Linked DNA regions of Homo sapiens: region 2 is linked to region 1. Evidence: promoter capture Hi-C in 16 types of primary human blood cells and fetal thymus (Javierre and others, 2016). All regions are on one chromosome and are shown on one strand. Each heading gives the region's core, a stretch centred on a gene start or on the middle of the fragment in contact. The rest is flanking DNA. Distances are from core to core; before and after follow the strand shown.

The links. Contacts are between HindIII fragments. The CHiCAGO score rates a contact against its expected background, and 5 or more counts as called.
Region 2: a contact is called between the fragment with the promoter of SCGB1D4 here and the fragment with the promoter of SCGB1A1 in region 1, in 2 of 17 cell types (neutrophils and monocytes). The highest score is 15.4, in neutrophils.

What each region holds. Positions count from the first base shown.
Region 1 is chr11:62,415,406-62,421,185 of GRCh38, reverse strand. SCGB1A1 (secretoglobin family 1A member 1) reads right to left here and starts at 2,153. Exons shown (of 3, transcript NM_003357.5): 1 at 2,036-2,153. The coding sequence starts at 2,090. It overlaps LOC102723765 (a long non-coding RNA gene), which reads left to right. Exons shown (of 4, transcript XR_007062699.1): 2 at 4,336-4,481. RefSeq lists a silencer at 2,835-3,129. The HindIII fragment of the contact is 29,364 bases long and covers 1,204-5,780 here.
Region 2 is chr11:62,296,625-62,302,404 of GRCh38, reverse strand. SCGB1D4 (secretoglobin family 1D member 4) reads left to right here and starts at 3,330. Exons shown (of 3, transcript NM_206998.2): 1 at 3,330-3,449; 2 at 4,747-4,933. The coding sequence starts at 3,395. The HindIII fragment of the contact is 1,500 bases long and covers 2,659-4,158 here.

The sequences.
Region 1 (5,780 bases), core at 904-3,403:
CCTTCTGAACAAATTTGCCTTCCCTCCTCTGACTCTAGGGCCTCACTAGAAATTGCCACTCCAAGTCAGACCCTCTCCAGAACTTAGGTCCTTGATGTGTAACTTACTGTGTCACCAGGCAAGTCACTCTGTGTTTCTGTAGCTCAGTTTTCTCATCTGTAAAATGGGAACAATATCCCTACTTCATTTTATTTTTTATTTTTTAAATTTTAATTTAATTTAAATTTTATTTTTATTTATTTATTTGTTTTCAGACGGAGTCTCGCTCTATTGCCCAGGCTGGAGTGCAGTGATGCCATCTCGGCTGACTGCAACCTCTGCCTCCCAGGTTCAAGTGATTCTCCTGCCTCGGCCTCCCAAGTAGCTGGGACTACAGGCATGCGCCACCATGCCTGGCTAATTTTTGTATTTTTAATAGAGACAAGGTTTCACCATGTTGGCCAGGTTGGTCCTGAACTCCTGACCTCAAGTGATCTACCCACCTCGGCCTCCCAAATTGCTGGGATTACAGGCGTGAGCCACCGTGCCTGGCCCAATATCCCTACTTCATAGGGTTGTTGTAAGAATAAAAAGAGAGGCCAGGCATGGTGGCTCACGCCTAATCCCAGCACTTTGGGAGGCCTAGGTGGGTGGATCACGAGGTCAAGAGATGGAGACCATCCTGGCCAACATGGTGAAACCCTGTCTCTACTAAAAATACAAAAATTAGCTGGGTGCAGTGGTGCGTGCCTGTAATCCCACCTACTTGGGAGGCTGAGGCAGGAGAATCGCTTGAACCCGGGAGGCGGAGGTTGCAGTGAGCTGAGATCGCGCCACTGCACTCCAGCCTGGCAACAGAGCGAGACTCTGTCTCAAAAAAAAAAAAAAAAAAGAATGAAAAGAGATATTATGTGAAAGGGTGACAGTGATTGGCACATTGTGTGAAGTAAGTGTTAAATATTGTATGCATGTGCACACAAATAGACAAATGCATCTCTGACCCACCCCTTAACATGTTGCAGTCCTATCTTGCTCAGCCACCCACCTCTGTACGCAGACAGCACTGAGATCTTCTAATTAATACACATTTCAGTCCAAAATGATGTCATTTTCTCTGAAAAACAAATAAACCTCTCTGCAAAATAGTTGTTCCTACTGCTTCTTGGTTTGGGTTTTCTAACTCCCCAGGGTCATAAAACTTATCTCCATGGGTGTTGTGAAGCTTTCCAAGTGAATTAATTGGAGTTTGTTTATTAAAAAATAACAACAGCATTTTCAGATGAGAATGGAAGAGGCTGACGCAGAGTGAAAAACAGAGTTAGATAACCCAGTTCCCCAAAGACGGGGGATCTTGGAGAGAGCTGTGATCCTTCTTTCCTTCCTTTCTCCCCCTCTCTCCGTCTCTCTTTCTGCCCCTCTTCCCCCCACAGTTCTTTTCCTTTTAGTGACAGCAGCAACTACTCAGAGACTCCTAATCCCTTTTGCAGAGGACGGAAATGTTTAGAAAACTTCACTCTGGGTTGGCAGTTCCCCAAAGGGAAGCTCTCTTTCTGGAATATTCCTCTGTGCCCAGAATGAGAGACCTTGTCTTGGGTTGGGTTTCTTTTGGGGTCACGAGTCCCTGCAGCTCCCCTTCCAGTGACTTCAGCTGCCAGCATGGAGTGGAGACCCCAGACTTGGAGGCTGCACCAAGGTCTCAGCATCTTGGAGTCTGTCCAGATCTGGGATGAGGGCCTCATTATTCCTATGCTGGATGTACTCATCTTTATGGGGTATTCTCCACTCCTCCCTCCAGGCTATTCCATTCCCTGGGATTCTGAGGGTTGTTGGATATAGAAGATGGGACCCTTTTTAGGCTTCCTTACAGCCTGGGGCTCTCTCCAAGTTTCCAAGATGAGCTTGCTCACCAGACCCAGTTTTCTGAGACTCAGCATGCCCAGGTCCTCCCAGCAGCTCCAGAGCAGGAATGGGCAGCTCACTCCTTCTTCTGAGCAGAACTGGGGGGTCCTGAGAGTTCCTAAGTCCAGGAGGGAGGGAAGGGTCTCTGAGCACTCACCGGAGCTGCAGCAGAGAGCCAGTGTGACCAGGGTGAGGGTGACAGCGAGTTTCATGGTGGAGGAGGGGGATGCTCTGGCCCGTCTCTGGTTCCGTCTCTGAGTCTGGTGGGCTAGTATGAGACATGCCCAGCAAGGTGCCTTTTATATGCTCTAGGCAGCAGCACCCAGATGGGGAAGGGCAGGGCAAGGGCTCTACATAAGATACTGCACTATTTACTTGGCATTGGCTTGGTGGGATAGGTAAATATTCCCTTTTCTCAACCCAGTTTCTGTCCCCACTGAAACTGAGCTCACACAATGGGCCACTTGGGGGTGGAGGGCCGAGCCCTGCCTGGAGGCAGTGAAGGGAACCCAAGTCAGAGGATGTGGAAACCCAGCTGCCTGTGTCACTCACTGAACCTGGGCACTGGGGCAGTCCAGATCAAGAGAAGCAATTGTGGAGCCCACCTGGAGAAACTGAGGCCCAAGTTCCCTCACAAGTGGCAGGGACAGGACTAGGACTAGGACTCAGGACCCTGACACTCCACTGGGCTCTTTCATAGGCTCCCCTCTGAGGAGGGCGACTGAACCTTAAGCCAGGAAAGACACATGGTTTGGAGCATTGCTGTGGTCAGACTTCGGGGGCCCCTGGATTGAAGCATGTTGAATAAAAGGGACCCTTCCAGAATTCCCATCAGAAACCTGAGCCCTGCCCCAGGCTGGGTCTGTTCCCACCCAGAAGTGCTCTCAAGTCCTGTGCTCCTGATGGCCCAATTGGTGGGACCTTCAGTCCTTATCTCACTTGACCTCCCAATGGCCTTGACACCTGTGACTGCTTCCTTCTCGAACCATTCTCTCTCTTGCGCTCCCACGCCTCAGTTCTTTCCTGTTTTCCTTCTTCTGGCCATTCCTTCTTGTTCTCTTTAGATGTTTATTCTTTACTGTTCTTAAGTGTTGATGGTTCCCAGGCTTTGGCCTTCTCCCCTTTCTTGCCTCCAGTTGCCATTTCCTGGTTCTTCTCCAAAGCCCGGGCCTCATAGCACCTAACCTGGCCTGGTCAAAATCCCCTGACTCGACCTCCCTGCCTCCCTGCTAGCTCTCCTCAGCCATCCTCTGAAAGGCCATCAGAATGATCTTCCTAAAACCCACTGGTCGTGTCCTTCTTCTTGAAACCCTTAAACTCTTCCTTTTGCCTAAAGAATAAAATTCAAGTGCAATTTACAAGGCCCTTGCCCACTGACCTTTGCCTACCATTTGAACTTCATTTCTCCTCTCCCCCACACAACGACTTAGCCCTCTCTTACTATTTGTGGATTCGAGAATGTTCCATGTTTTTTCATGCCTTTCTACCTATGCACAAGCTAAGCCTCATGCCTGAATACACATTTCCTGCCTTGTCCACTTCGCCAAATTCTATTCGTACTTCAAGACTCAATCAAATATTGATCCATTCATTCATCCAATAAATGCTGACCACCTATGATGTGCCAGATGTGGTGCTAGGAGTCGGGAACTGGGGTAGATAGACATGGAGAGGCATTGCGTGGCACTTCAAGAACTCCTCAAAAATAAATAAATAAATAAAAATAAATAAACAAATAAAAGGCCAGACAGGGTGGCTCATGCCTGTAATCCCAGGACTTTGGGAGGCTGAGGCAGGTGGATCACCTAAGGTCAGGAGTTTGAGACCAGCCTGGCTGACATGATGAAACCCCGTCTCTACTAAAAATACAAAAATTAGCTGGATGTGGTGGTGGGCACCTGTAATCCCAGCTACTTGGGAGGCTGAGGCAGGAGAATTGCTTGAATCTGGGAGTCATAGATTGCGGTGAGCTGAGATCACGCCATTGCACTCCAGCCTGGGCAACAAGAGCAAAACTCCGTCTCAGAAAAAAAAAAAAAAAAGAAGGACCCCATTGTGCCTGAGGGCTTCGAAAGGGTTGCTGTGCCTGCAAAGGGGGCATTCAGGGGCCAGAGCACACAAGGCCTCGTTCTAAGGCCTTTACACTCAGAGTGGGAAGCTCTTGAAGGTTTTAATCAGGGAGTGACATGGTCTGATATCCCTTTCCTGATGAACTGACCCTGACTTGGGCAGCTGGGGGAATGGGGTGTTATTTCCTGACACAGAGAAGACTTGGGAAAAATAGGGTTGGGGGTGAAAATAGGGAGTGAAGCCTTCCCCGACAGGTGGTTCTGATGGGTGGTGACTCTCCCCATGGGCCTCTCTTCCCCCTCTGCTTACAGGGCCCATTATACAATATTTTAACTTTGCAATTCTTATTTTCTTGTATGACTCCTTTACTTGACTGACCTCCTTTAGGGCTGAGGCCGCTGTAAGCCAAGGTACGCAACGCTTGCTAAACAGGAATCCCTGGAATGAATCCATGCATGAGGCCTTTGTGCCATGTGACAGTTGAAGGCTGTGGTGACCCCGGAACCGTCCCACTCCGAGACGCCTTAACACCGGTAAGAGCACACGTTCTAAACTAGCAACCAACAAAGACTTGTCAAGTACGTTATGGTGTGTCCTTACAATGAAACGCTGTGTGGCTGAAAACAGAGAAAGAAGATCTTCTGAGCTGATGGTGAAATGATCTCCAAGGCAGACTGCAAAGGGGGAAAAACAAGGCATGAATAGAGCAAAAAAGAACAAAGAGAAGGCTGGGCGCGGTGGCTCACGCCTGTAATCCCAGCACTTTGGGAGGCTGAGGCGGGTGGATCACAAGGTCAGATTGAGACCATCCTGGCCAACATAGTGAAACCCCGTCTCTACTAAAAAAATACAAAAAGCTGGGTATGGTGGCGCTTGCCTGTAATCCCAGCTACTCGGGAGGCTGAGGCACGAGAATCACTTGAGCCCAGGAGGCAGAGGTTGCAGTGAGCCGAGATCATGCCACTGCACCTCCAGCCTGGTGACAGAGCATGACTCCGTCTCAAAAAAAAGCAAAAAGAATCCACATATGCATTTGCTTGTATTTGCATAAAGCATCTCAGAAGTGCCTTCTTTCTTTTAAGTTTCCTTCTGTGTCCCATCATCTGGGCTCTTGAGGTTAGCCCATCTTGAGGATTTCAGGTGTCTGCATCCCTCCCCTCTTAGGGACTGTTGAAAGGTGTAGCCTGCCTGTAACCCCAGCACTTTGGGAGGCTGAGGAGGGCAGATCAACTGAGGTCGTCGAGAGTTTGAGACCAGCCTGGCCAACATGGTGAAACCCCCTCTCTACTAAAAATACAAAAATTAGCCGGGCGTGGTGGCAGGTGCTTGTAATCCCAGCTACTTGGGAGGCTGAGGCAGGAGAATCACTTGAGCCCAGGAGGTGGAGGTTGCAGTGAGCCGAGATCACACCATTGCACTCCAGCCTGGACAACAAGAGCGAAACTCCATCTCAAAAATAAATAAATAAATAAACAAACAAACAAACAAAAGAAAGCTGTGGCCAATGGAGCTGAAATGGGCAAGGAAGATGAGCTGGACCACTGGGGGCACCTAAAGCCCATCCAGTGCCGCCACTAGTGGATCCCTCTGTGGGCAGTGGCTGGTCTGGCCGGGGCAGCTGTGATGGCTGCAGGGGTCTTAGGCAGGAGTCACATCACCCATAGCCTCAGACTCTGCTCTCTACTTTCCACCTTCATGGTGCGAGGTCCTGGGGACAGGATAGCTGGCTCCTGGGTCTTTGAGGAACTTAACAGCTAGGAGGAGAGACAGAGATGGGTGCAACTGATGGGAATGCTCTGTGGGGAGATGGAGGAAGTCAGAGAAGGAAATGG
Region 2 (5,780 bases), core at 2,081-4,580, 120 kb after region 1:
CAGCTTCTAGCTCCATGAGTCCCAGGCCTTACCTATGTGTAAAGCAGGCAGTATATGACCTTGCAACATTTAGCAAACCTGGTATCTAAATTATATGATTTAGACAACCTATTTGCATTTTGATGACACTTGCCTTTTACTAATAATCCTTCAGACTATTTTTATTTCTTCAAGTCATGTGAACTAAAACATTTGATTGAAGCACTTATTTTTCTTTAAGCCAATCAATCAGAGCTCTTTTTATAGACATCACACACAGCACATATATAGCAACACTAAGAAACAGAAGATTCAGCACTTGTAAGATTTTTCACTTGGTAGTCTCTTAATTGGATTACTGGCTTTAGGGTGGAGCCCTTGAAGGAACAGGGCTATGTAGCATACCTAATAAACAGACGCAGCTGAAGGCAAAGGCAGATCCCTAAAATTAAGGGTGCCATTTTATACCTGATCTTGGGTCCCTAAAAGGAGGGAGATACTATGGGAGAAGACAGTGTAGTGGTTCTATCACGTATTTCACTGCAAGGGAACCCAAAGCCAATTGGCTTATTCTGTAATGAGCCCATTCCCCATGGGAGTCTCGTCTCTTAGTTGGGGGTGAGGATGTTGCCATATCTTTCAGGTGGCCAAGAGCACGCTTCTTTGATTATAACTACTATTAGCCATCCCTAACATTGAATTTTCTATCTAGTTATTACACACCGAAGCTCTCTCATAGTGTGAAGTAATTTGACACCCCCAAAACTCAAAATGGTAGATTACACAATACATAACAGAACAGAGCCTTTGATTTTGAGAAGTAACTGCTTTTAATTTTGGGGGTTTCATGAGGAAAACAGTTTTTTTTTTTTCCCCAAAATGGGGTCTGTGGTGCCTCCTCTGTTTTTCCCAAGGAGTCCCATGCTACCAGAAGTTATCTTAGGGCTTCTCATGCTTGCATTAAGAATGGTAAGATGAAAAATGGAGAAAAATAATTCAGTTGATTGAAAAGAAAAGAGCCTTTTTCCCAAAAAACAAGATTCAACAAGAGAAAAGCATAAAGACCTTTTCAATATACCTATAACTTGAACATATCCACTTTTAATTAAGCTGAGCACTTTTAAAGAAAATCCTTTTAAATTCCTTGTTACTTGAGATTGCTGCAAATGAGAGGTGCATGGTTCCAGCAGAGTCTATGAAGGGGAGTATTGAACAAGTCATCGGGGTCAGGCAACGATGTCCATGGATGGAAAGAATAAACTAAAATCTTGAGTCAATTGTGTAAAAAGGAGGGAGCCATAAAAAGCATCAATGATGAAAACAAAAAAACCCTGCATAGGTGTTAATCGTGGTAGGACTAATAAAAGTATACGCAAACAATCCTCTGTCAGAGATACACATGCTCCCCAATGGACTGTACAGATGACAAGGTGAATGTCAAGCCTGAGTGAGGATAAACTCTCATCCACAAAAAGGGTGGATGCTTCACAGACCTGTCTACTGCAAAAGAGGCCTCAGTCCTGAAGCCCATATTCATGGGTTTGCAGCCTCCAAGACCATGAGCTGGGTTTCCTTTTCCATTTATGTCAAAGAGAAATGGTGTATCTAGGTGTCCGTGTAGTTCTGCAAGTAGGTGATTTAGTGGATTTTGGCTGTGCTCTAAACTAGGAACTACTGGCAAACCATGACATATATGACAAATGGGACAAGATAATGGCAGTTTACATTGAGAACTACTATGTACCAGAACTTGGTATATTTTAAACACACACACACCCATGAACACACTCATTTGATCATCTATCAACCCAATGATGTAGGCACCATTAGTAGCCTACTTTGACAAATGAGAAAACTGGGGTTACATAAACTGAATAATTTTCCTAAGGTCCAGGAGCCCATAAATGAGGATCTGAACCCTCATAGCTGTAAACCTCACCACCAACCCTCCCCCTCCTTGGTGGCAGCAGGGCTGATTCAGGGACTCCGTCGTCATCCTGTGTGATGAAAGTGAGATCCACTGTTGCCCTCAGCTTGGACTCAACTAAATCTGTCAATGTGTCTTTGATGACAAAACCCGTAAGGTCCCCTTCCTTCTTAAAGGTTTTCCTGGCTGGATCTCAGCCCTGCTGTCTGTGAGAAACACCAGAGCAGTTTAAACAGTACAGAAAGGAGGGATTCACCCCAATGCTACTGAATCAAAATCGCCAGAGAGAGAAGCCTGTGGGGTCAGTATGTTTTAAAAGCTCCAAGTGATTTGACTACATAGCTGAGAATGGAAAGCTATGGCCTGGGCTGTGACTCCTCTCAAATGTAAGTTTATTTAAGAGAAAAATTTCTGGTGATTAAACTCACACCACATGAAGGCACGGCAATGGGAGGGAAGGCGGGTGTGTATTGCTTTGTCTGGGGGCTTCCTTCACTTTCCCTTAAAAATGGGATTGGCCCAGGCAGCACAGATAGGTTTGAAGTGGAAAACTTGAGCCTAGGGGTTAGGGGGAAGTGACCACCCACCCTGTTCCTCTGTCTCTTCCCTTCTATTATCTTCCCAGCCTAGAGCCCCACTGATGTATGATTGGCTCTGAACACTCCAAAAGCTCTTGAGAAAAAGAGTTAGGTTATTTAATCTTCAGATCAGCCCTAAGATAAGACGTGGGTGGCTACACATCACAGAAAGCTTGCTTTTTATAGATAGAAAATGTGAATCTTGGCCATATATATAACTGCACGTATAAACAAGATTCAGGTTTGGGAGTGAGGCAGGCTAGAGAACAGGTGCAGCAGATGTTTTTCCTCAGCATATCTTCTACAGGTGGGATGTATTCAACTATGTTTTCAGTACCTATGCAGTGAACATGGTGGTGATGGAAGGGGCTGAGGGGAAGGATTAGACTTTCCCAATGTGCAACTGAAACAAGCCTGCTTGTTGTCAGACATGCAGGGGGATCAAAGCAGGGTCTCCTTATGTCCCTGCTCTCCCATAAAGAGAACACAGCCTTCCAGCTTCCTGTGCCTTGTGAAGCCATAATTCACCTGTGCCCCTGCACTGCTACAAAGATAAAAAGAACTAATCAGCAAAAGCTCATAAGGAAATTGAGGATCCCAGGAACATTTCCAGATGTACCTGAACACTCACCTGGAGCACAGAGCAGAGTTCTCACAAGGCTGCTGTCTTGTGCTCCGCCCCACTCAGATGCAGAGATTCCTAAGGAGGTGACATTGATGGACGGCAGCAGCCCTGGCTTGGAAGGGCGGGCTGGGAGCCAGGCCTCATGACCTACCAGGTGCCCCGGTAGGTAGGACCAGCCAGGCTCCCTAGGTACAAATAGCCCTGGCCTCCATGACTACACAGGCTCCTGGAGTCGAATCCAAATCACTCATTGTGAAAGCTGAGCTCACAGCCGAATAAGCCACCATGAGGCTGTCAGTGTGTCTCCTGATGGTCTCGCTGGCCCTTTGCTGCTACCAGGGTGAGTACATCAGTCATGAGTCCAGCACCAGCCCCTGGGATGCACCCTCTTCTGAGCACAAGATCACCTATTTGTGCTTTGGGTTGGGGTCTGCACAAAACCAAACAAAATTCCAAACCCTTTTCTGTGCTTGTTGAATAAGATTCATAAAGGTTAGAGCTATTTCTTCTTTCTTCTTCCTTTTTTTTTTTTTTTTTTTGAGAAGTTTTGCTCTTGTTGCCCAGGCTGGAGTGCAGTGGCATGATCTTGGCTCACTGCAACCTCTGCCTCCGGGGTTCAAGTGATTCTCCTGCCTCAGCCTTCCTGAGCAGCTGGGATTACAGGCATGGGCCACCACAGCTGGCTAATTTTGTATTTTTAGTAGAGATGGGGTTTCTCCATGTTGGTCAGGCTGGTCTCGAACTCCCGACCTCAGATGATCTGCCCGCCTCGGCCTCCTAAAGTGCTGGGATAACAGGCATGAGCTACTGCGCCTGGCTGCTTAGAGCTATTTCTTCTAATCCCCAGTATCTAAGAAGTTTTATAGAAAAATCAGTTCAGGCAAATGTTAGGAATTCTTCTGCCTGAGCTTCACTTCTGAATGGGATCTGTGTCAGATGATGTAATGTGAGGTCTGGGGTGAACCTGGGCTTCGACACTTCCCACCCCTTGATCTTGGGCACAATGCTCACCCTCCTTGAGCCTCCTCTTATCACTGGTGGTTAAAGCTTCTGCCAGGAGTGGCTATGAGAATGAAGTAAGGTTATGGTTGTCAAGAGTCAAGCTGTGGGCCAGGCATGGTGTCTCATTCCTGTAATCTTAGCACTTTGGGAGGCCACAGTGGGCAGATCACTTGAGCTCAGGAGTTCAGCACCAGCCTGGGCAACATGGCGAAACCCCATCTCTACAAAAAAAAAAAACAAAACAAAACACACACACACACACACACACACACACACACACACAAAAGCGGGCATGGTGGCAGGCACTGGTAGTCTCAGCTACTTTGGGGGCTGAGGGAGGATCGCTTGAGCCCAAGACATTCAGGCTGCAGTGAGCCGAGATTGTGCCACTGCATTCCAGTCTGGGTGAACCTATCTCAAAAAAAAGAAAAAGAAGTCTAGCTGAGGATATGAAGCTCTTCCCTTTGTTGTGTGACCCGGAGAAAGTCACACCTGGAGTTTCTGGTATTGTCATCAGCACAATAATGGTATAGAAACATAGAACCCAGGGGATCCTGTCTGGTGTAACCTCAGGGAGCCATGAGAGAAAAATCGACTTTCCTAACATCAACAATATTTTTATTTTTGTGCTGCAGCCCATGCTCTTGTCTGCCCAGCTGTTGCTTCTGAGATCACAGTCTTCTTATTCTTAAGTGACGCTGCGGTAAACCTCCAAGTTGCCAAACTTAATCCACCTCCAGAAGCTCTTGCAGCCAAGTTGGAAGTGAAGCACTGCACCGATCAGATATCTTTTAAGAAACGACTCTCATTGAAAAAGTCCTGGTAATTTCTTTCTCCTTTATGCAGAGGCAGAATTCAACTCAGCTGCACACAGCCTCCTGCATGTTTCTTGTCAGGTCACCTGCCTGGATGCTGTGTCCCCAGAGTGTGCTGAGGACATGGGGAGTGAGCTAGGGCCAAGGCAGGGATGGTGAAGGGCCAAGCACGGCCGCCTCCCTGCTGGGATCTTTCCTGAGGTCAACCTACCCTCACGCAGTGGACACGGTCACTATGGGATGTCCCAGGGAGTGTGGGAGATTTGAACAGGGAGAGGAGGCTTGAGGGGACCTAGAGCTGGGCCTCCCACAGACAGGGTGCTGGTGAACTGGGCTCCTGTGCAGCTTCTGCAGAGCCAGGAGCCCCTTGCAGCTCCTCAGGGCCCACTATCCACTCCTCATCCATGACACTCTCCTGACCACAGCCAGTGGGCCAAGACTTTTTCGCTGCTCTACCTACTGCAACGCCACACAAGTGGGATGTTCTCACTATGTCTTTCTCAAGAAATCAGAGATTCCAGGGCCCTCTCAGCCTGGCTGCCTCTGGATTGTTGTCCTGAGGTTTGGCTGCAAATACCCATAGAAGCTGCAGGGTCAGGGCTGATAAGACCCCTGGCCGTTAGGCAGAATTCTCCCATGGGAAGACTGGAGTCTCCTGGAAGGTGTGTTTCCCAGAAGCCCTCCCTGCCCTGCCTGGCTTCAGAGCCCTGGGTCCCCCATTACAGGGATCAGGAGACTCCACAGACCTGGGACAGCCCAGACAACAACCTCTTGCTGCACTGTCAACCCCTCCCCTCCTCCTCCATGAAAACCCTGGGCCTAACTCCTGGGTCTTCCCAGGTCTATTGGTCTGG